Regions from separate parts of the Homo sapiens genome. Here regions 2, 3 and 4 are each linked to region 1. Evidence: promoter capture Hi-C in 16 types of primary human blood cells and fetal thymus (Javierre and others, 2016). All regions are on one chromosome and are shown on one strand. Each heading gives the region's core, a stretch centred on a gene start or on the middle of the fragment in contact. The rest is flanking DNA. Distances are from core to core; before and after follow the strand shown. Region 1 holds the start of SEMA3C (semaphorin 3C). Region 2 has its middle 290 kb from the start of HGF. Region 3 has its middle 310 kb from the start of HGF. Region 4 has its middle 330 kb from the start of HGF.

What was found. Contacts are between HindIII fragments. The CHiCAGO score rates a contact against its expected background, and 5 or more counts as called.
Region 2: a fragment that was not itself captured here is called in contact with the fragment with the promoter of SEMA3C in region 1 in 2 of 17 cell types (M1 macrophages and megakaryocytes); the score reaches 6.1 in M1 macrophages.
Region 3: a contact is called between a fragment that was not itself captured here and the fragment with the promoter of SEMA3C in region 1, in 8 of 17 cell types (megakaryocytes, M2 macrophages, M0 macrophages and 5 more). The highest score is 30.7, in megakaryocytes.
Region 4: a contact is called between a fragment that was not itself captured here and the fragment with the promoter of SEMA3C in region 1, in 7 of 17 cell types (megakaryocytes, erythroblasts, M2 macrophages and 4 more). The highest score is 18.4, in megakaryocytes.

What each region holds. Positions count from the first base shown.
Region 1 is chr7:80,915,919-80,921,827 of GRCh38, reverse strand. It overlaps SEMA3C (semaphorin 3C), which reads left to right and starts at 2,777. Exons shown (of 18, transcript NM_006379.5): 1 at 2,777-3,000; 2 at 5,009-5,149. The coding sequence starts at 5,047. RefSeq lists a silencer at 2,511-2,640 and an enhancer at 3,188-3,257. The HindIII fragment of the contact is 5,149 bases long and covers 1-3,138 here.
Region 2 is chr7:81,479,674-81,485,582 of GRCh38, reverse strand. No RefSeq gene overlaps it. Among named protein-coding and RNA genes, the nearest start is that of HGF, 290 kb to the left of the region's middle. The HindIII fragment of the contact is 803 bases long and covers 2,430-3,232 here.
Region 3 is chr7:81,459,999-81,465,907 of GRCh38, reverse strand. It overlaps the pseudogene EIF4EP4. Among named protein-coding and RNA genes, the nearest start is that of HGF, 310 kb to the left of the region's middle. The HindIII fragment of the contact is 1,220 bases long and covers 1,719-2,938 here.
Region 4 is chr7:81,438,256-81,444,164 of GRCh38, reverse strand. No RefSeq gene overlaps it. Among named protein-coding and RNA genes, the nearest start is that of HGF, 330 kb to the left of the region's middle. The HindIII fragment of the contact is 2,920 bases long and covers 1,737-4,656 here.

The DNA of each region.
Region 1 (5,909 bases), core at 1,528-4,027:
AAAAACATAAAATATTAAAAATATGCCCACTACACCTTGGCAGGCAGAGACACTTCAGTGTGTAAGATACTGCACCATTTCTAAAACGTCTTAATAAAAGTTATCCTAAGTATTTTAGTTTGGCCGCTCGTCTGAAACGTTTTGCTGGGTGCAAACATTGTAATTAGTGCTCTCTAAATTTAGTTGTGCCACTACTCCTGTAGATCCATTTAGTGTCCCCCTTACCGAAAACAGCGTTCTCAATTAGCTGTTGTTTTCCACTTGTAAGGACAGTCAAAGCTGAAGTCTTAAAAAAGTGGTAGTGCCCAGAAATGTTTCTTAGGCAAGTCTTGTTTTGTCAAGGTGTTTTAAGCAGTGTGGGGAAATGTGGGCAGAGATTAATCTTAGGGGCTTCTAGTGCCACTGTTAAAATTCCACTCTGTGGCCTAAGTCTCTGGCAAGCATGAGCACTGTGTCCTTGCGCTTGAATCTATCTTGGCTAAAGCCTATCAGTATTTTTATGATTCATTTTGAGGTGTGGCCAACTGTAAACGTCTCAGAGCTAAGCAAATACCATTAAATCCCAGGAGCACATTGAAAAGAGGTTTATTTGAGCAATATTGAGGGAATTTCGGCACAAATTTCATGGGCTGTGATTAAATCTAAGCTATTTGTCAAGGCCTCCAAACCCCTGAATGTGTAACAGATTGAGCTAATTCATTGGTGTTTGTAAATTGAGTTTGGAATTAAGCTCCTTTGTAAATACACCGTTTGAGATGCATTTCATCTTGCAACTCTTTATCGTGGTTTTCTCAAACTTAAAATGTATAAACGAATTCCATCTTACGTGAATTTGCTGATCAATTTCTAACAGCTCCACATTTCTAAATTAATTTAATCCACACACTCATCTTTCTAATGATTTATTCTTCTCCCTGCTTAATATATAAATGCCGAATGAGATATCAGAAGGAGGATAATAGTGGAGAGTATATAACCTGGATCTTACTCAGTTTCAGAAGTATTTCAGAGAAGCACGCACAGTGCTTATTCACATTGACATCTGGATTTTAATATTGTCAGTTTTTGGGGGGTTAAATTCCTTATTACAAATTTATGTCAAGGATCTTCTCACGCATCATCACAAAAAATAATTTTAACTGTTGTTACTATATTAATTTTTTGACGTTTGGAGATAATATTAGCCCTGGAATAGTATTTTTGAACTCATAAATTTGCATTATTTGACTTGATCCTTCGTTCCTTGACTATGCAGCGTGAGTCTGAGACACGTGTATGTTTACTGAACACAAGAGGTGGGCCCCAGACACATGAAAGATGTGTCTCACTCACCTCTTCCTCCTACCTGAGATTTCATTCAACTTTCCCACTGAACAATGATTTTGCACCCCCAGAGGGGTTTTCTATGATACAGTTTATAAGAATTTAATGATTGTTTCATTATGTGAATTGTCAGGTATAAGGTGGAGATATTACACTCCACGTTCCTTCTGTAGAGTGACATCTGCTGGGCTGTGCCCCACAGTGATTTTAAGCAAGTGCCTGCTTGTTTTATGGGGATCAAAGCTCATTTCTCCCGATGTTTAAACATCTAGTTTATTGTGGTCCGGAGAAGTAATTTTCACTTAAACATCAAAGTCAGTTCCAGAGTTTAACGAGTGTACCTGAAAGTAATGCTGGAAAAATACCTCTGATGTATTTCTGTAGATGTGTGGTTATGGCAATCTGTTGGCATAACTCAGAACAGCCTCTCCACATAGAATTGTCAAATAATTTCTTCGTGTAATTATGTTTGGGAGTATGGTTGGGGACAACGTACTGGATATGAGTCAACGTGGAGGGGTCAACAGAATTACTGCTTTCAGGGCATTAAGGAAACTCAATAGGAAACAATACCCATTAAAAGGATACACTTGTGCAACAAGATTGTCGTTTATCTTGACCTGTTTTAGAAAACACGCAACAGAGGCCCGGCGCGGTGGCTCTCGGCACTTTGGGCGGCTGAGGCGGGCGGACCATTAGGTCAAGAGATCCAGACCATCCTGGCCCTGTCTCTACTAAAAATACAAAAATTAGCTGGGCGTGGTGGTGGGAGCCTGTAGTCCCAGCTATTCAGGAGGCTGAGGCAGGAGAATCGCTTGAACCCGGGAGGCGGAGGTTGCAGTGAGCCATGATCACACCACTGCACTGCACTCCAGCCTGGCGACAGAGTGAGATTCCCTCTCCAAAAACAAAACAAAAAACAAAAAACAAAAAACAAAAAAAAAACGCAGCAGAATAAGGACAAAACTCACGTCCTTTTAAAAACGCATCTCTTTGCCTTAAAAGGCTGCAGTGATCCTTCCCTGGCAAAAATAAAAAACCACAACTGCTTTGCACTTTGATATTTACGGCCAGGCAAAGCCTGTGTAAGTCTTCGAGAGCCGCCGGCAACAAAAACCGTGGAGCGCACCCAGCAAGTTGCTCACTCCGCCGCGGACTGCGAAAGGAGCAGGGTTGCGGAGCTAGGGCTCCAGCCTGCGGCCGCGCATTCTTGCGTCTGGCCAGCCGCGAGCTCTAAGGGTCGGCCCCGCCCGGTCCGCCCCCGCGGCTCCCTGCCAGGCTCTCGCGGGCGCGCTCGGGGTGGGGCCTCGCGGCTGGCGGAGATGCGGCCGGGGCTGCGCGGTGGTGATGCGAGCCTGCAGGGCGGCGCGCCGGGGCAGCCGGAGCCGCGCGCCGCGGCGCTGTAATCGGACACCAAGAGCGCTCGCCCCCGGCCTCCGGCCACTTTCCATTCACTCCGAGGTGCTTGATTGAGCGACGCGGAGAAGAGCTCCGGGTGCCGCGGCACTGCAGCGCTGAGATTCCTTTACAAAGAAACTCAGAGGACCGGGAAGAAAGAATTTCACCTTTGCGACGTGCTAGAAAATAAGGTCGTCTGGGAAAAGGACTGGAGACACAAGCGCATCCAACCCCGGTAGCAAACTGATGACTTTTCCGTGCTGATTTCTTTCAACCTCGGTAAGCTAAATTGGTCATTTTCCGCATTACAGATTTAGCAAAGTATAACTTTTTTGGCCTGTATATTGATTTTTCATACATTGGTATGCTCAAGCCTGGACATTTTCTTAAGAACACACGCGGTTTGTCAGGGAAGCTTTCCCCTTGCTGAGAGCCCTGCTCGAGTTGTTTCTTTAGGCGGTGACACCTGCGGAGAGTTTCAAGTTGAGTATTACAGTGCCTTCAAAGGCAAAATTGCTCCAGAGGAGATAAGAGAATTCTTTTCTTAATGTGTTGTTAGTTTGCGATCAGCAGAAGTGAAAACACCAAGAGGAACGTCTGTGTCTGAGTTAAAGGGAAGAAGTTGTAAGATACTGTTGGGGAGGCGGGGGTGTATTTAAGACACTTGGCTTTCAGTCTTTCACTCCTCATCACTAGGTGGGATGTAAATCAAATTGCCCTGTAGACTATCTTCGTTTCACCTGCCATTGTATCACCAGTATTCTTTGCAATTGGTTGTATATGTACTTTTGGGAGAAACATATAAGGTAAGATACCAATATGTAAAAAAAATGTGTAAATAATATCAACTTGCTCAGTAAACATAACAAAGGTTAGGCATATTAATAGTTTTTTTCTTTTGGCTTTAACTATGAAGTCAACAGAACCAAGGGGTAAATTACTGAGGGAAAGTCACCCATAAAATCAGTTTCTTTCTAAGTTAATTTAGGGATGACAGGGTGAAGAGGTTGTGGAAGCAGGAAGAAACTGTTTCTTTTGAAAATTACCAACACAAACATCTCTAGAGTTTCCTCCATCTGTGTGGTAAAAGAAGCGTACAATTTCATTTCTAACTCTCATAACATATGCACCACCTAGGAAATCTACTTACAATTTTTGTTTAAAATTGCATATTCCATTTAATTCTTTTTATTCTGTATTAATGAAGCTGTCTTTTTCAGTTGTTAGTGGTTCTTACAAAGAATTTAATAATTTTGACTATGAAATTTTAATTTGAAAAGCCAAATAATGAAGATCAGCATTGTTGTAACCTGTAAAAATAAATTTCTTTACTGGACTCTTGGGTCACTTTATTGTGTAATTATGGTAGAAGCAAAATGATTGTGTTTCTTTAATGGTCCTGAGTTTATTTTACATGATGTAGCCACTAGAGCTCCTGTAGGTTTATGGTAACACATTATCTGGTCTTCCTTGGGATTCAGATATTAGTTAATAGCATGTACCAATTTTATATCTATAGTTTGAAGCAGTGACACCTGTCTCTTTGATTTATCTTTGGGAATTTTGACAGCCCACATTCTGGTTGATTTATTTAAAATATGCATTGGTGGATACATGGCTCACTGGATTGCTCACCACTAGGTCATTGGTTTGAATTTGGCACTAGTCCATGGTTACTTCAACTGCATCATTTAACAACTGCCTGTTGGTCATCTGGATAAAATGGCAGATAACTGATTCCAGTGACTTCAGTGATCCAGGATTGAGCACACATAGATTTATGTAAGGAAACACCACTTCCAGAGACAATTACTCCAAAAGAGCTAATGACTATTGAAGTGAGTAGGTACACATGAATGCTCATGTGAGATTTTGCTGCTGCTGTTACGTTAGTGGGGGGAAAGAGTTCTCATCCAGTAATATTCTTTTAGCTCAATTCTATTCAAGTCTTTTTAATGTAATGGATTTCTAGAGAGAAGATCCGTTAAAATATTGGGCTTTCCTTTGGGTATCAGTGTTTTTCTTCACTGCTTTGTTCTGTTTTGATGGTAGCATCAATTTGCTGGAAGATGAAAGTTTCTCTTGTTGCAAAGACTTCCAGACACAAATGAATCAAATCCACATTTTCACATCTGAGAAGCAAAGACACAGCACCTCCTACTGTTTGCATTACTGTAAAAGTTCAGATGGTTCTTTTGTGAATAGGGTGTTTTGTCTAGATTGCTGTTTTTTCCTACTCCTAAAATGTGAAATGAGATATAACAAACATGTTGTCTCTCTCTTAAAGGTATTTTCCCTTGGATATTAACTTGCATATCTGAAGAAATGGCATTCCGGACAATTTGCGTGTTGGTTGGAGTATTTATTTGTTCTATCTGTGTGAAAGGATCTTCCCAGCCCCAAGCAAGAGTTTATTTAACATTTGATGGTAAGAGAGTTGATAAACACTCTGGGAAAAATGTTATTTTAAGTTTTGTTATCTTCCTTATCCAGATTCAGAAATTAAGAGTATAAATATTACTGGATATTAATTTTAAAAATATTTACTGGGCTGCGTTTTGGAGGACAATAGCTATTTTAAATGATTGGTTAATAGACAAAGATCCTCTGTTGGATTTGAGGTATTTATGAAAATGCTTATAATATATGCTGCTTTTTGTAAAATAATTCTTCTGTGCTTGCCTGTGTACTCACAGAGGAGATGGGCACGAGCTCAAAGCCTAGCATCTTTGATCTTACTGTTCACCTGGTAATGTTAAGAAATTGCCCCTTTGTGCTAATCCTCAGCAGCAGAGAGAGCTATGCAGGTTCAATTACTAAAAAATTCTCCCAATTAATTTTTTGGGCATTAGTCTCAAAACTGGTTACTCCGTGTGTTGTTCTAATGGTGTTTCTTCTTTTTCCACAAGGATTTCCTGAGATTGGCATAGTCCCCTAATTAATTGAAAAGGACCTAAAAGAATAATTGGAAATATGCTTTTGATGGTTGTTGTATACAAATGTTCTCAGAAGCTTAGGGAAATGGGTGTGATTTCAGATTTTCACATACATAAAAGGTGCAAGGTCTTCTGAGGGAATGGTTTGCATGAGCTTTAATGTATATAGTTCAAAGGACTTACAGATGAATGAATTTGGTTAGTCAAGTAACCCATACTAATTGGACAGATGGAGCAAGACATGGATGAGGA
Region 2 (5,909 bases), core at 1,582-4,081, 560 kb before region 1:
GAGGTTCTCAATGGTGATGCCACTCTCACCAATGAATTTCTTATTGATTTAGTAAGTGCAGTTTCTGTGGGTCCTCCTGTGGAACACAGCTTGGAGGTGAGTATTCTACCCTTATATGGTGTATTTACTCTAGAATCTCATTTTTGTGAGCTGTTTGATCCCTTCTTGACCATTTGCTATGAGAATTCTATAATTCTTCATTTGGTGTGGCCTTTTCATTTTTCCAAGATTCCAGGAATATGTTAACACTGTTTCTTGTGGTTTGTGCTAGGGTATTAATCAATATTCATATTGATAAATTCTTCCTTATTAATTTTATGTTCCAGAACTCTAGATCCCTCAACCTGGACACCCTCAGGATTTAGTCCCATATGTACTCTCCCAGCTTCTGCTGGTACACTCTAGCTAGGTTTTGCAGCTTCTTTGGTGCACAGCTCTCCTTCCCCCATAGAATCAGCTCTTTGTCAGTTGGGTTATATTTTGACTTGATCCTAGTTATTGGTCTGATATCCAGGAGAGGAGTTGGAGGTTCATCCTGAATGACCTGAAAGTAAAATTGCAAGGGATTGTCTTCAAGCCAGTAGGTAGCACTAGTTCTTAACAGGGAGGAATAGGCCACTTTTGTAGGCCCACAAAGTTCAGAGAAGTCTGAGTTTCAAGTTTATCAAGTGTCTCATTTCAGACGTCTTGATTCCAGGATTCACTTCTTTATAATGAAGATCCTGACCATGGTGGAGCTGACATCCATGAGAATTAAATTTTCATTGGAGCTCCACTATACTTATATGTCCTGGGCTTGAGCTTAGCTTTTTCTTGCCTCTGGCTGTTGCAGTTTTATTAGTTTCTGTAGAGGTGTCATGATTCCTTGATTCTTTATAATACTTGTGTCCTTGCATTTGCTGTGCATTTGAAGAAATGGTCCATTCGTTTGGCCTTTACAGGTGTTCATTGTAGGAACAGACCTTCACTAATAGTCTAGCCTGTGATTCTGAAAGGGCTGACAACTCCAGGCAGAACTTGCTGTGGTTTCTCTAGTTGGCTGGGCCACTGCCTTTGCTCTGATGGCTGGGCTCTGCTGTCCAGAGAGACCACTGGTTAGGCAGAGACCAATGGTTGGGCTCTGCTATTAGAGGAAGCTACTGGTTGGGCTCCGCTATTAGGAAGAGTTGCCGGCTTGGTACTGTGATGCTCTCTGGTCAGGGTAGTCAGAAGATGTATTCCTTGGCTGGGCAATTTTACTATTTGGAATCTGCACTTGGGCAGGGCTTCAGGCTGGGCTTTGAAAGTTGCTGCTTGTGATGGGCAAGACAAGAGCCTATGCTCCTTAAAAATGTGTGATTAAGGGTTGCCTCCATTAGGTCAGAGCTGTAGGGTGGACTTTTGCCTGAGTCAAGATGCTACTTGACTTCCTGCGTCAAGCAGGTTTAGTTCCTACACTCCTGCAAAATGCACACGGGAGGTTGTTGGGCAGGCTTTTTGGCTGAGCTAAGTTACTTACTCTTTGGACTCCTAGGTTTTACAGGTCTAGCCCTTGTGCCTCTTAGAAATGTATGCATGTGGCTGTCTCCCTGCCTCAGCAGGATTATAAGGCAAGCTTTTTGGATGAGTGGAGCCACTGCTTGACCCAAGATATCTAGCCTGTGTGATTCTCAAAATGCGCAGAGGGGGGCATCTCCCTACCTGGGCAGGGTTGTTAGAGTAGGCTGTGTGCCTGGCCATGGAGGCTAGCCATCTAGGGACTCAAGCAAGGCTGAACTTCCCACTGTGCTTCTGAAAAAGATCAGTTCAGCTTTCTGGGTGGGCTATGAAGTTGGCTGGTAACTCTGATTGGGCACCGCAGCTGGTGTGAACACAGAGGTGCCACACAGATCCATATGCTAGTCACTGTGGCCTCTGCCTTCTTTCTTTGTTTCTACTTGACCCCAGGTGGTCTAGCCATGCCTTTACCCTTTTCTTTCCCTATGAGGTGAGACAGGCGGGATTCCTGGAAAGAAAGCATCTCAAAATGCTAGGGAAGCTGAATGACTGCCTCCAGTTCTCTTTCCCCACTGCAGAAACTATGGGTCCAGGGTAATGCTCTTCAACCAGTGTTGTGCCAACTTCGTGGTGGCGGGGGGGGAGACCATTCTTCTGACCCTTCTCACTCAATTTTCACTTAGGTATGTGTACCACATTGTCTCAGGCTCGTTTCCAATATTGGGCTTTTGAAGAAGATGTTCTGGTCTATGGATAATTGCTAGATAAGCTTACAAGGGGTGGGGGGAGTGTGTGTAGCCTGAGACTTTTTACTCCGCCATATTGCAGCCATCCTGACAATGATAAAAACTCTTAACAGACTAGGTATAGAAGGAAGTTGCCTCAACATAATAAAGGCTATATGTGACAAACCAACAGCTAACATCATACTAAATGGTTAAAAATTGAAAGCTTTTCCTCTACCACCAGAAACAAAACAAAAATGCTTCTTAACACCACTTCTATTCAGCATAGTACTGGAGATCCTAGCTAGAACCATTAGGCAAGAAAAAGAACTAAAATACATTCAAATTAGAAAGGAAGACAACAAAATTGTTTGCAGATGACATAATTCTTCTTGTTTTAACTTGATATAAAAATAATCATGTGATATTTTTCCAATTATTTATTAATTGTATTGAGTGTCATATATTTGAGAAAACATATAAAAATCCATTAATATTTAAAATAAAATGTGTTGGATACTCTGGGGAAACAAGTCACGTTAAATCTTAAACTTTATTCAAGGGAGATTTACAGCTAACATATGCCATCTAGTGGCACTAAAAGAAACTTCACTTACAAATTCATAACATTTCCATTTCTTAGCGTACTATACTTCTGCTTATTCTTATGAATCTTTATATATGCCACCCTAAGGGAGAAATTCTATTGAATTGAAGTCCCATAGTTTTTCATAGATTTCTTACAATGCATATTTTTATGCATACAATGTCATGAGAAAAGTAATAATTTGTCATCAAATCATAATATAATCTATTTGTCTGAATTCCACGCTTCCAACCACCAACATAACTCTTTACAAGATGATCAGACCTGATCCCCTTTTTTCTATTACATGTTAATGTAAATATACACTTAGACTGATGCTCTACATAAATTATCTTGAAAATGTTATATTAAGAAATATCTAAAACTAGTTCAGTTTTTATACGATTCATGTTTCTGTTTTTATAAAGCAGAATGTTAAAAAGCTTTCAAGTTTCATTACATGGAACTTCTTGCCACATCTTTTTTTTTTCAACCTATAAATTGTTCATTGTCAAACATGTATCACACTTTTGAATTAAGGCATTGATCATCCCCATTCTTTGTACCTCACATTGGTGACTGAAAAATGTTGTGCTCTGCTGGCAGAATAGAAGCCTCCAGAAACCTGGTCCTGTGCTCTGACACAAGAACCTAGTGCTAGTGAACATGATGATTCTAGTCCTTCTCTTGCTATAATCAGGTGGCGTCCATCAGTGACTAACTCTACAACTAGAAAATTACCTCTGCATAGAAATAACTAAGGTAGAAGAAGGAGTTACAACACCAAATAAAGCAAGAGGAGAAAGGTATTTCTCAATAAATTGAACTATTCCCACAGTCATTTCTAAAGACTGGTGCTAAAGAAATTGTGTTGGGAGGCCGAGGCAGGCGGATCACGAGGTCAGGAGATTGAGACCATCCTGGCTAACACGGTGAAACCCTGTCTCTACTAAAAATACAAAACATTAGCCGGGCTTGGTGGCAGGCGCCTGTAGTCTCAGCCACTCTGGAGGCTGAGGCAGGGGAAAGGAGAATGGCGTGAACCCGGGAGGCGGAGCTTGCAGTGAGCCAAGATTGTGCCACTGCACTCCAGCCTGGGTAACAGAGCGAGACTCTGTCTCAAAAAAAAAAAAAAAAAAAAAAAAAAAAAAGAAAAAGAAAAAGAAAAGAAAAAAGAAATTGTGAGTTTGTGAATTACTTTTTTGTGTGTGCCTCATATCTCCTTCAGTTCTGCTCTGATCTTATTTCTTGTCTTCTGCTAGCTTTTGCATTTGTTTGCTCTTTCTTCTCTAGTTCTTTTAATTGTGATATTAGGGTGTCGATTTTAGATCTTTCCTGCTTTCTCTTACAGGAATTTAGTGCTATAAATTTCTCTCTACACACTGCTTTACATGTGTCCCAGACATTCTGGTACGTTGTGTCTTTGTTCTCATTGGTTTCAAATAATATCTTTATTTCTGCCTTCATTTTGTTATTTACCCAGTAGTCATTCAGGAGCAGGTTGTTCAGTTTCCATGTAGTTGTGCCGTTTTGAGTGAGTTTCTTAATCCTGAGTTCTAATTTGATTGTACAGTTTGTTGGGCCTTCTGTTCTTTTACATTTGCTTTACTTCTAATTATGTGGTCAATTTTAGAATAAGTGTGATGTGGTGCTGAAAAGAATGTATATTCTGTTGATGTGGGGTGGAGAATTCTGTAGATGTCTGTTAGGTTTGCTTGGTCCAGAGCTGAGTTCAAGTCTTGTATATCCTTGTTAATTTTCTGTCCTGTTGATCTGTCTAATATTGACAATGGGGTGTTAAAGTCTCCCGTTATTATTGTGTGGGAGTCTAAGTCTCTTTGCAGGTCTCTAAGAACTTGCTTTATGAATCTGGGTGCTCCTGTACTGGATGCATATATATATTTAGGACAGTTAGCTCTTCTTGTTAAATTAATCCCTTTACCATTATCTAATGGCTTTCTTTGTCTCTTGATCTTTGTTAGTTTAAAGTCTGTTTTATCAGAGACTAGGATTGCAATCCCTGCTTTTTTTTTTGCTTTCCATTTGCTTAGTAGATCTTCCTCCATCCCTTCATTTTGAGCATAAGTGTGTCCGCACGTGAGATGAGTCTCCTGAATACAGCACACTGATGGGTCTTGACTCTTTATCCAATTTGCCAGTCTGTGTCTTAATTGGGGCATTTAGCCCATTTACATTTAAAGTTAATATTGTTATGTGTGAATTTGATCCTATCATTATGATGTTAGTTGGTTATTTTGCCCATTAATTGATGCAGTTTATTCCTAGCCTTGATGGTCTTCACAATTTGGCATGTTTTTGCAGTGGCTGGTACTGGTTGTTCCTTTCCATGTTTAGTGCTTCCTTCAGGAGATCTTATAAGGCAGGCCTGGTGGGGACAAAATCTCTCAGCATTTGCTTGTCTGTAAAGGATTTTATTTCTCCTTCTCTTATGAAGCTTAGTTTGGCTGGATATGAAATTCTGGGTTGAAAACTCTTTTCTTTAAGATTGTTGAATATTGGCCCCACTCTCTTCTGGCTTGCAGGGTTTCTGCTGAGAGATCTGCTGTTAGTCTGATGGGCTTCCCTTTGTTGGTAACTCAACCTTTCTCTCTGGCTGCCCTTAACATTTTTTCCTTCATTTCAACCTTGGTGAATCTGAAGATTATGTGTCTTAGGGTTGCTCTTCTTGAGGAATATCTTTGTGGGGTTCTCTGTATTTCCTGAATTTGAATGTTGGCCTGCCTTGCTAAGTTGGGGAAGTTCTCCTGGATAATATCCTGAAAAGCGTTTTCTAACTTGGTTCCATTCTCCCTATCACTTTCAGGTACACCAATCAGACATAGATTTGGTCTTTTCACATAGTCTCATATTTCTTTGAGCCTTTGTTCATTTCTTTTCACTCTTTTTTTCTCTACCCTTGTCTTCTCACTTTATTTCATTAATTTGATCTTCAATCACTGATATCCTTTCTTCCACGTGATTGAATCGGCTACTGAAGCTTGTGTGTGCTTCACGAAGTTCTCGTATTGTGGTTTTCAGCTCCATCAGGTCATTTACGCATTTCTCTAAAATGTTTATTCTAGTTAGCGATTCATCTAACCTTTTTTCAAGGTTCTTAGCTT
Region 3 (5,909 bases), core at 1,079-3,578, 540 kb before region 1:
TGGCACATATACACCATGGAATACTATGCAGCCATAAAAAATGATGAGTTCATGTCCTTTGTAGGGACATGGATGAAATTGGAAATCATCATTCTCAGTAAACTATTGCAAGAACAAAAAACCAAACACCACATATTCTCACTCATAGGTGGTAATTGAACAATGAGAACACATGGACACAGGAAGGGGAACATCACACTCTGGGGACTGTTGTGGGGTGGGGGGAGGGATAGCATTGGGAGATATACCTAATGATAGATGACGAGTTAGTGGGTGCAGCGCACCAGCATGGCACATATATACATATATAACTAACCTGCACATTGTGCACATGTACCCTAAAACTTAAAGCATAATAATAATAATAATAAAAACAGCAATGACTAAATTTCACAAGATAATTGGCATGGGATAGGCCCAAACTAGTCAGTATCTCCTGGCCTCTTCCAAGTCTCATTTTTCTTATCAATAAAATGAAAAATTTAAACTTAAAAAAAAAACAAAACAAGAAAAAATTGAATACGGAGTATTTGGGAAGTCTTGGCACTATCTTTACAACTTTTGTTTTTAAATTCCGGGGTACATGTGCAGGATGTGCAGGTTTGTTACATAGGTAAATGTGTGCCATGGTGGTTTGCTGCACCCATCATCAACCCATCACCTATAAATCAAAAAGTATTATAAAATGACCCATTCATTTAAAAAAATGCTTCCAAGGGGTCTTAGAACACCTTGTGCACCACTTTGTGCTGCTATAACAGGGTACAAAAGACTGTGTAAATTGTAGAAAAACAGGCATTTATTCTCTGACAGTTCTGAAGTCCGGGAAGTCCAAGATCAAAGCAGCAGCATGAGCTGAAGTCCTTCTAGCTGCACTCTCACAGAGTGGAAGATAGAAGAGCAAGAAAAGAACTTTGTGTCCTCCCATGGCAGAAAAACAGAAGAGAGAAAACCCACTTTCACAAGCTCTTTTTGAGATAGGAATAGCACTGGATAGTCTCAGGAGGATGGAAAAACCCAAACAACAGCAAAAACAAGAAAAAGACAGAGAAACCACAGGATTACAGAAAACCCAAAGTAGGAGAGAGAAAACAGCTAATAACACAGTCAGGGTGACATGTGCAGGACTCTTCCAAGCAAACCCAAATAAGGGAGAAAGGAGTCGGTAACCAGGGGTCCTTGAAATCCCCTTTTTCCAAAATACCTAATGATTATTCTACCCCCAAATTAAAGAAACACCCATAAAGCAGGAATGCTGGGTGGTCACAGTAGAAGTAGGAAAATACCAGGCAGCAATTTCACCTAGCAGCAAGACAGGAGCTATTAAAATTAGCTATAAGGGCAAGGATGGGCCTGGGCTGATAAGACCCTAACAAACAGGATAGGGGCTAAGCAGCTGAGGCTGGCTGGGTCCAATGTGGCATTGGATTTGACCAATGTCCTACCCCAAACCTAACTGTAGACTAATTACCATACTAAATCACTCACCTACCAATACCATGACAGATCCGAGCCTATCCATATTTAGTATAAAAATGGGTGGCACCCAAATTCTAAAAATTCTCTACCCTTTTCCTGGAAAAGCTCATGATTATTCTGTCCCCTAATTAAAAGAGCCCATAAAATTAGAAACTCAAACTCCATTGAGCACAACTCGTTCTCACGAACATGTGCACACTTCTCTCTTAACTGTATACTTTCACTTTGCAATAAAAGCTTCTTGCCTTTTGCTTCCTTCTGAGTGTTCCCTGAATTCTTTCTCGTGATGGTGTCAAGAACCTGGACACTGGATGGGGTGAGGGTCTTATCTGCATCTGGAGACCCACCTAAGCCCTCCAGCCACATCTCCATCGTGGCATTCAAGAGAGTGGAGCCCTCCCATTAGTCCCCACCTCCCAAAACTGTTACACTGGGGATTAAATTTCCAGCATATGAATCTCGAAGTACACAAGGTAAGTCTCAGCATTCATAAGAATTGTAAATGGATTATTTAATGTTAAAAAAAGTAATGCATGCATATGGTATATAATTACAACAGTACAAATAAGATATATCTCTGTCACTTCTACAAATACACTAATTTTCTTCTAATTTATGTGTATCTACCTGATGCACTAAAGCTCTGAGAATCATGAATCATTTCAAAAAAATAAAAAGCTAAATTCTTGTGTCTACTCACCAGAGAGCCTTCTGAACAATAAGAAGCGGTTTGATGAAGAATTCTAAATGTGGGTATGAGCAGATTCATCTAAGTTGTAGTTGTGGGATCTTAAACCAACCCTACTACTAAGCCCTCTCCAGAAGACAAAACAGAAATTAACTATTGTGTTGCTAACCCAGGATACTATAATAAAACTATAATAAAAATAAAAAATGTTTTAAATGTGCTAAATATCTTAGCAAGCAATTCTTTGCCTGATCTCTAAATTTCCTAGTGTAGAGGGCTTGTGGGCTCTGTACAACCATATATACTTGTTGAGTATTTTGATGCCTTCCTGTGACTACTCACTTTTTAAAGATTGTATTGGCCAATGTGGAAACATAAGAAAAGCAAATGCGAAGGATGGCTAATTACATTGAATTAACGGCAGCAATAGTGATCTGACCTCCTTAGACTAGATACTGTGACCGTCTCTAGATGTTTCATTTGATGACTGCAGAGATCATGCATATGGAAATTGTTGTTATTATCTCTGAAGTGGATAAGGTAGCGAGCATTTTGGAAGACTGGATGTGAAAACAGAGATGCAGTTATACCAGGAGAGAGCATTACAAGAAAAGATTAAGACTTACTCAAAGTAGTGATCAGTTATCAGCCCCAAGCAGATTCAGCTAATGAGTGCCTTCAACCACTAAAATGAGATTCATTGTTTAAGAATTCTCCTGGGTCATCATAAGAGACTATCAATAATTGAGATTTGGGAGCTAAACATAAGCTTATTCAGAAGCAGTGTGGACTGCATTAAAATTTGATTCTATCTAATAATGCTATGATAAGTGAAAAGCCTCATTTGACTTCCTTTTCTGTTTTGAGCTGTGTGTGTGTGTGTGTGTGTGTATGTGTGTGTGTCTTAAGCATCTGCAATGTAAATAAATGAATCATAATACACATCATCCCCAGAATCTGTTTTTCCTAGCATGCTCTGCAATAGTTTCGTAGAATTACTGTTACAGAATAGTTTATCCATAATACTCAGAATGTAACTTCTGTTTCTCTGCTTAGCAGCAAAAAATCAGTTGAATGTCCAAAATATATGGTAGTATATTTTGCTCATTTAAAACAGAATGATGCATACCATTTTCTGCAATTTTCTATAGCACTTATTTTTGTTTCACTCAATTTCTAATGATTTCTAGTGATTTTCTTCCCCAATTTTTGTTTTTGCTTTTGTTTTCACTCATCTAACATTGGTGAAGGATCAAGGAATATGACAAAAAGCTATAATAAACATATATTTTCATGCCCCCTCCTGCACACACACAAAAATCACACATGGCCTGCCATTCTGCACATCTGCTATTCTGCCTAATTATCTGTGATCAATAAATAGATCAACAAACAAATAAAAAGTAACCTTATTGATGTACTTACATTATAAACATCAAAATAAACACAAAACCTGCCACAAGGGAATAACAAAACACTATTACATTTTTTTAGAAGAAGCCATCACATCCTCATTAAATGATCTGTGGTTTCAGAAGGTTATTTGAATCAGTTGCATAGTCTTAAATATTATTCTAGTGTTTTATTTTTTCTTTTGTTTTTCTTTTAATTTCTAAAACAATGCTTCTGTAAAGCAACTATGTGAATGGGGCTTGCACACCTCCAACACTGGGAGCATGACTGACCTAGGACCCAGCATCTTTACTCTGAAAGTCATTGTTGAGTATGGATGCGCTGTTCCCAGCCAATGACTGAAGGGAGCAGGGATCTAAGAGAGGTCCAGTCTTGGGAGACAAGGAACTCCATGGACCAGCAAGATGCCTCATAGCCTCCCCAAGGCCTTGCTGAGCTTGTCTGCAACTGTACAACCTTTTACTTTATGGTCCAGTGAAAGATAAGATTTTTTTTTTCTTCAATTTCTGCTTGGAGTCAATTAATATTTACTCACATGATTAACATATTTGGTTTAGGTTCTGGCATCATATCTTATGTAATGCTTTCTGTTTTTACTTTTTCCCCTTAATCTTTATTGTATTATCCTTGTATGTGTGTGTTTGTGTATTTTGATAATTGAAAGGTTTGTATATTCATTTTAGTAGTGACTTTTATGGCTATTCTCATTTCTCATCCTACATTTTAAATTCAGGTTTATGACTTGTTTCTACCATTTACTAGATCTGCAGTCTTCGTCAGGTAGGTTACTCAATCCATTTAGACATTAGTTTTCTCAATGAAACATGGAAATGAAGATATCTTCATTTATTGGTTAATAAGAAAATTAAGTGGCAACATATATGACATACATGCTAAATTAAAGGACACTTTTTAATTGTTTTTTCCTTCTGTTCAGGTAAGATTTAGAGAATAATTAAGCAAAGTATTCCATATCAAATATTAGTTTGAAAAATGAACTAAACATAATTTGAATCTCTTACAAATTCCAAGCAGGTATAAGAAATGCAAAATATTTTTATCTTAGAAGATTTATTTCTTATTACCTGAATAGCTTTGAATTGTATTGAGCACATCTTTATCTGATTAATTATAACATTTAAAAAATCTGGGATTTGGAAAAATGTGCAAAACAAACTAAATATGACTAAGATCTTAGGCATTTATTTTTTAAAATGATCTCACAAATGCTTTGTAAGACAGGTCTGCATGGTTCATGCCTACCTGAGCCCTTCTTTCTGCTGAAGTCTTTTCTTCTGCCTAAATGAGGATGTCCAACTGTGTGCAGCTAGTGAAGTTATATTCAAGCAGCTTTCCATCTGCTTCAGTGTTTTGAGGAAACTTCCTTACATGATCTAACTTCAAGCAATCTTCTGCTCTATAACAGAAGGCTGTTAATGTTGATGAAATGGCTTATTAACACAGTGCACCCACATCTGGCCATCAGGTGCTCAAACTCTACTTCCTCTTTCTATCTTTATCTGTCAGTACCACACTGTCTATTCTCCCAGAAAATACAATCTCTTACTATCGTTGTAGCTGTCTGATTAGAGCCCTTCAATAAAACATTGTATTAAGAAGAGGAAGGAAATTAAATATTAAGTCTAATTTAAATGCTCTGGCATTTGCAAACATATCATTATATTACATTCTAATAAAACTTCTGCAATAGTTTAATGAGCTTGAAAGGCTCCTCCACTAAGCATGATGTTCTGTGCTGAAATAATCTCACAAAAGGGTGTTAAGCTCTGCCTTTTTCTGGCTGCTCTCTCCTGTTTCCCTGCCCTGTAAATTCTAGCCACATTGACCTCCACTCTGGGTATCTCTTCAACCCAGATCACCAGGTTTTGCTTAGATTCCACCTGTCTGTACTGTGGACAGAAGTTTCCAGACAGTGAGCTGTGGCAATCCCAGGGTTGACCTTGCTCCCTTTCCCTCAGGGTCACTGTTCTGTGCTGTCTGTTGTCCAATGTGTCAGACCAAAAATTAGATTGTATATTTCATCTCATTCTTTTATTTTTTTTTAAGATAAGTATGCAACACCAGTCCTGGCTACTCCTTCATGGAGAGAAGTGAATTGAGAATTGACATCGTTTTAACTATAGCAATTTCCTAACATAAGTTAGGATTATACATACAGAACAGACTGTAAATGTTATAAGCCCAGATTATGTACAAATTATATAAATAAGAAAAAAAGGAAGGAAGGTAGAAGTGGAATGAGATCATTTCCCTTTTGTTTTATTGCAAGGGTTAAACATCAATTAAGTAATTTGAGACAATTGAAGTT
Region 4 (5,909 bases), core at 1,947-4,446, 520 kb before region 1:
GTATCCATAATAATATAAAAATTAAAATAAATAAATTTTGAGTGAATCAGAAAAATAATATTTGGAAATTTTCATTTTTTTTACCGTTCTTGGTAGCACTTACAGAGAATGTACATTTTTAACACAATTCAATAATTAAATTTAGTTTCTCTTTTTACTGTTCATTAGAATGATACCTTAACCCCCCCTCCCCCCCGCCACCTCCATACACTCACACTCCCACGCACAATTTTCAAATAAATACATGTCGTACTTGGGGAAATGTTTAAGATTACACGTGGGCAAGGACTTCATGTCTAAAACACCAAAAGCAATGGCAACAAAAGACAAAATTGACAAATGGGATCTAATTAAACTAAAGAGCTTCTGCACAGCAAAGGAAACTACCATCAGAGTGAACAGGCAACCTACAAAATGGGAGAAAATTTTCACAACCTACTCATCTGACAAAGGGCTGATATCCAGAATCTACAATGAACTCAAACAAATTTACAAGAGAAAAACAAACAACCCCATCAAAAAGTGGGCGAAGGACATGAACAGACACTTCTCAAAAGAAGACATTTATGAAGCCAAAAAACACATGAAAAAATGCTCACCATCACTGGCCATCAGAGAAATGCAAATCAAAACCACAATGAGATACCATCTCACACCAGTTAGAATGGCAATCATTAAAAAGTCAGGAAACAACAGGTGCTGGAGAGCATGTGGAGAAATAGGAACACTTTTACACTGTTGGTGGGACTGTAAACTAGTTCAACCATTGTGGAAGTCAGTGTGGTGATTCCTCAGGGATCTAGAACTAGAAATACCATTTGACCCAGCCATCCCATTACTGGGTATATACCCAAAGGACTATAAATCATTCTGCTATAAAGACACATGCACACGTATGTTTTTTGCGGCACTATTCACAATAGCAAAGACTTGGAACCAACCCAAATGTCCAACAATGATAGACTGGATTAAGAAAATGTGTCACATATACACCATGGAATACTATGCAGCCATAAAAAATGATGAGTTCATGTCCTTTGTAGGGACATGGATGAAACTGGAAATCATCATTCTCAGTAAACTATTGCAAGAACAAAAAATCAAACACCACATATTCTCACTCATAGGTGGGAATTGAACAATGAGAACACACGGACACAGGAAGGGGAATATCACACTCTGGGGACTGTTGTGGGGCCGGGGAGAGGGGAGGGATAGCATTAGGTGATATACCTAATGCTAAATAACGAGTTAATGGGTGCAGCACACCAGCATGGCACATGTATACATATGTAACTAACCTGCACATTGTGCACATGTACCCTAAAACTTAAAGTATAATAATAATAATTTTAAAAAAAATTTAGATGACAAAAAAAAAAAAAAAAAAAGAAGTGCTCTGGACACCTTTGAGAAAAATCCAGCTTTGAGAGTCCCTTAAACTTTTGAGGATATGTTTTTGACAAGTCATGGGGCAGCCCAAAGGGGAATCCAGCCTAGGATAGGGCAACAGCCTTGGCAAAGGTTTGGAGGTGGGAGGGGAGGCAGAGCAAAAAAAAAAAAAAAAAAAAAAAAAAAATTACGTTTACTCTGCCTTCAATGACAGAGAAACCATGGGCTTAAATATTTGCATACACATTGATCTAAGGGTTTCTAATCAAACTTGAACTCATTTAGGATACTGCTAGTAATCCAGAAAGCGGGTAGGAGAGCTAATATTGGTTAAAGGGGAAGCTTCATGAGCTTTACTACACGCTACCAGGTTTCCTAATCCTATTTGCCCACATGTTGCCATTCCACAAAACTCCAAAGATAAGAATTGTCTTAGGTATAAATATTGCCTCATGATTACAGGGATGGAATTGGGCAAAGGTTGGAACATAGATACTAATCCACATTTACTTAAAGTCAAAGAATGTAAAATATTACAGGCTGCCATAATACTTACTATAACTTAAATAATACACAGTCTTTTATTTTGTAGTGGGGAAAAACTATACAATAGAAAATTTTCAATTAAGAAATTTATAAGCCCCTTCAGAATGATTACTTAGTATTAGAATCATAACAGAGTGTAAGTATTGGATATTAATAAACCTTTTAAAAATCAATAGGTAACACACATGAGGCATTCTAATTCAGACACGAATTTCAAGAATTCAAAAACATTACTCCTATCAGCAAAAAAACATTGTGTCTGCAGTTTATCTTATCAGTCATGGTTGTATGTCAGGGTCTAATTTTAAAAAATGGCTTGCTAGTTGTAGATGCCTGAGATATTTATTTTCTGTACAGAGGCCAGATCCACTGTGTGTTTTATTGGAAAAATCTTGTGTTGCATTTGATTATTCCATCTCATTGTCACAAAATCACCATGAAGTCCTTATAATGTACTTCCACACATTCCAAAAAGAATTAGCCCCAGTAAAGAGGTTTCTTTTCTTTGGGGATTTAATCATTGTGTATGTTGAGAAAAATACACATCTTTGTAAAAATTATTCTAAGAGATGTTAAATTCTGATCTTTCTCCACATTAGAGTGCTTTTAAGTCTTTATGTTAACATTTTAAAAAGTTATATTATATTCAAAGATTAAAGTATTTTTCAAATATCCTATGAGCTCCTTTTAAAGGTATTCTTTGTTTCTGTTTTTGTAAGATTTAATTTTTTGGAGCAGTTTTAGGTTCACAGCGAAATTGAGAGGTACAGAGATTTCTCATATACCCCTGTCCCAACTCATGCATAGCCTTCTGCATTTTCGACACCTTTCACCAGAGTGGTACATTAGCCACCATCAACGGAGCTGCATCAACATATCATTATCACCCAAACCCCAGAGTTTACATTAAGGTTTGCTGTTGGTGTTGTACATTCTATGGGTTTGAACAAACGTATAATGACATGTATCCATCATTATAGTATCATACAGAATATTTTCACTGCTTTAAAGATCATCTGTGTTCTTCCTCTTCATACCTCCTTCCCCACAAGCCCTGTCAACCACTGTCTCCACTGTCTGCAAAGTTTTGCCCTTTCAATAATGTCATATAGTTGCAGTCATACAGTATGTTGCCTTTCTAGATGTCTTACTTCACTTAATAATGTGCCCTTAGTTTTCCTCCATGTTTCTTCATGGCTTGATAGCTCATTTCTTCCCATGGTCTGGATGCACTACAGTTTAATTATTCACTCACCTACCGAAGGTCATCTAGGATGCTTCCAAGTTTGGGCAATTATAAATAAAGCTGCAATAAACATCCGTAGGCAGATTCTGTTTCTTAGTTCTTTGTAGCAAGATTTTTACTTGTCCTTAAAAATCTAACATTATAATACATACTTAATAAATAATAATAATAAATTTGCTCTATATAGAATACAAAGGGTAAAATATGAGAGTTTCTCCTCCTCCAACTCCCTCCACCCTTAAATCTCCCTCCACCTTTCCCAAGTCCCAAAGGTAACTGCTGCTAAAATTTGCATCATATATGTGTCAAACATATGTTTCAATATTTTTAGTGGGCTGGGTAATTTAAGAACAAATGAGAGAAGGATACTGCGATTTTAAAAATTACTTTCAATGCAGAAAAAATGCATTTAAACTGTTCAAAATAGAGATAATTACATAAATTATCCAAGTTTATTATGTAGATATACATAGTTTGTCTTGCTGTATCCTAATTTATATGAATATATCTTAGACAGATACATGAGTTGTTGAGATATATTTCTAGATGTACATAGTATGTCTGTTTTATTTTTAAATTATGTTCTAAAAATACTTTCATAAAAAATTAAACTCAAAATCTTCCATACATATTTTTGACAAAAACTAAAATGTCAGCTTTATTTCTGAAGAACTAAACTACAGATATAAAATAGCTAGACAGTTACTTTTCTTAAAAAAAGAAAAAAGAAGTCTCATTTCTCTTGTCTTTTTTAATAAAAATAAGTGTTTTATAACTCAAGATAATGTTTCTAGAAAATAAAGGGTCATCAACAATATACTTTTAAATATTATGATCATCTTGTATAATTTAATAATATCGAGAGCTAAAGCTCAATTTTAAAGTTGTTTTTAAATTAATTTTGAATTACATTTTTAAAAAACAAAAGATAAAAAAGCATTTTTTTGATTATTCAATGATTGGATAGATTCACAATTTTCCTTGTCTCTTGGAATCTATTTATTTGACTTTAACTGAAACATTCTCACCCCGACTTTATCAGTTCATGGGTTCTTAATTCCAACAACTTTCCAGGTCTGAAAAGAATTCTTAGTTCTTTTTCTACAGCCTTCCTCTTCATTTGCTAACCATGTTTCAACAAGCTACTGTGTTTACTTTTCATCTCCTGCTTCAAAATTTTCTGTGGTTTCCCTTCCTTCCTTGTAGAAGTTTTACAAATAAATCTTCAGAGTATAAGAGAATAATGTCTTCTTTTGAAACTTCAGAAAAATAGTTATATGCAGTAAAGGATTGGCTTTCTCACTACATTTAGGCAGAAAATATCAAATAAAGGAGAACATTTTAGCCCCAGAGAGGTAAATTTAGCTTAAGAAAAAAAATATTGAAAGTTGAGTGAGCCTATTTTATTTCAGAAGTGAAGAAAAATGTCAAAAATAAAAGCCTAATAAGAAAATAATAATTATACCTAAGCTTCATAATGGCTGCAAGTGTGTTATTAAACATATATAGTTGTCTAAATGAAGTGTTTCTTTCACAGATGCAACAAAATAATGATCCAAAAGTAATGAGACACCTCCAGTGACCTCCACCACCCCAGCCCTGCTCTCCTCCTCAACCCCTTGCCATGTTCCTCACTCTTGCCACAGGCGTTCTCTTTGTACCCCAAATAGGCTATGTCACTCTCAGGACCTTTGTGTACTTGCTGTCCTTCTCTCCTGTGGCTCTCCCTCAGTATTTGCTCTGGTGACTTTTCCACATTCAGGATTTAGCTCAAGTAGTATTTCCTCACCAAACTATCTAGTTAGCTTCAATACTGTTGGTTTGCTTTCTATCATTTTACCTGTTTTAATAGCAATTAAAACGACCTGAAATTATCATTTAATTTAATGTTTATATTAATTAAATGCTCATTTAATTGTCTATTGCCTGTCTTCTCCCTAGATTTAATCTTTATGTGAGTAGGATCTTTGTCTTGTTCCCCTTCTGTAGCCCAATTGCAGCAGCCTGAATGGCACATAATAGTTACTGAATACATATTTTTATAATTATTTTATTCTATGAATGCTTTTCCCATCTACACATCAGTGCTCCTTGATTGCACTTCAAGGATCACATAATTGACAAGTGGGAAGACTTCACAGTCATTGAACCCAATTATCTTTTCAATGTTAGCATCACCCAAAACTGTCCAATTTGAAGAACCTGCCCAGGTTGAATTTTTTCTGTCATGGGAATTCAATACCTCCCAAAGACTTTCTTTTCAATATCATTGTAAATGTATTTCACAGAGTAAACCTAAGTTAATTTATTAATTCAACAAATATTTATTAATCAAAGACCCAATACATCCTACGGAATGCTCTAAATATTTGGTGTGTATCATTGAACAGAAAAACAACAAAAATCCTCATTCTCATGGGTCTTACATTCTAGAAGTAAGAGATAAACTGTTGCACTTTGGGATGCCGAGGCGCGCGGATCATGAGGTCAGGAGATCAAGACCATCCTGGCTAACATGGTGAAACCCCGTCTCTACTAAAAATAGAAAAAAATTAGCCTGGCGTAGTGGCGGGCCCCTGTAGTCCCAGCTACTCGGGAGGCTGAGGCAGGAGAATGGCGTGAACCCGGGAGGCGGAGCTTGCAGTGAGCCGAGGTGGCGCCACTGCTCTCCAGCCTGGGCGACAGAGTGAGACTCCATCTCAAAAAATAAATAAATAAATAAATA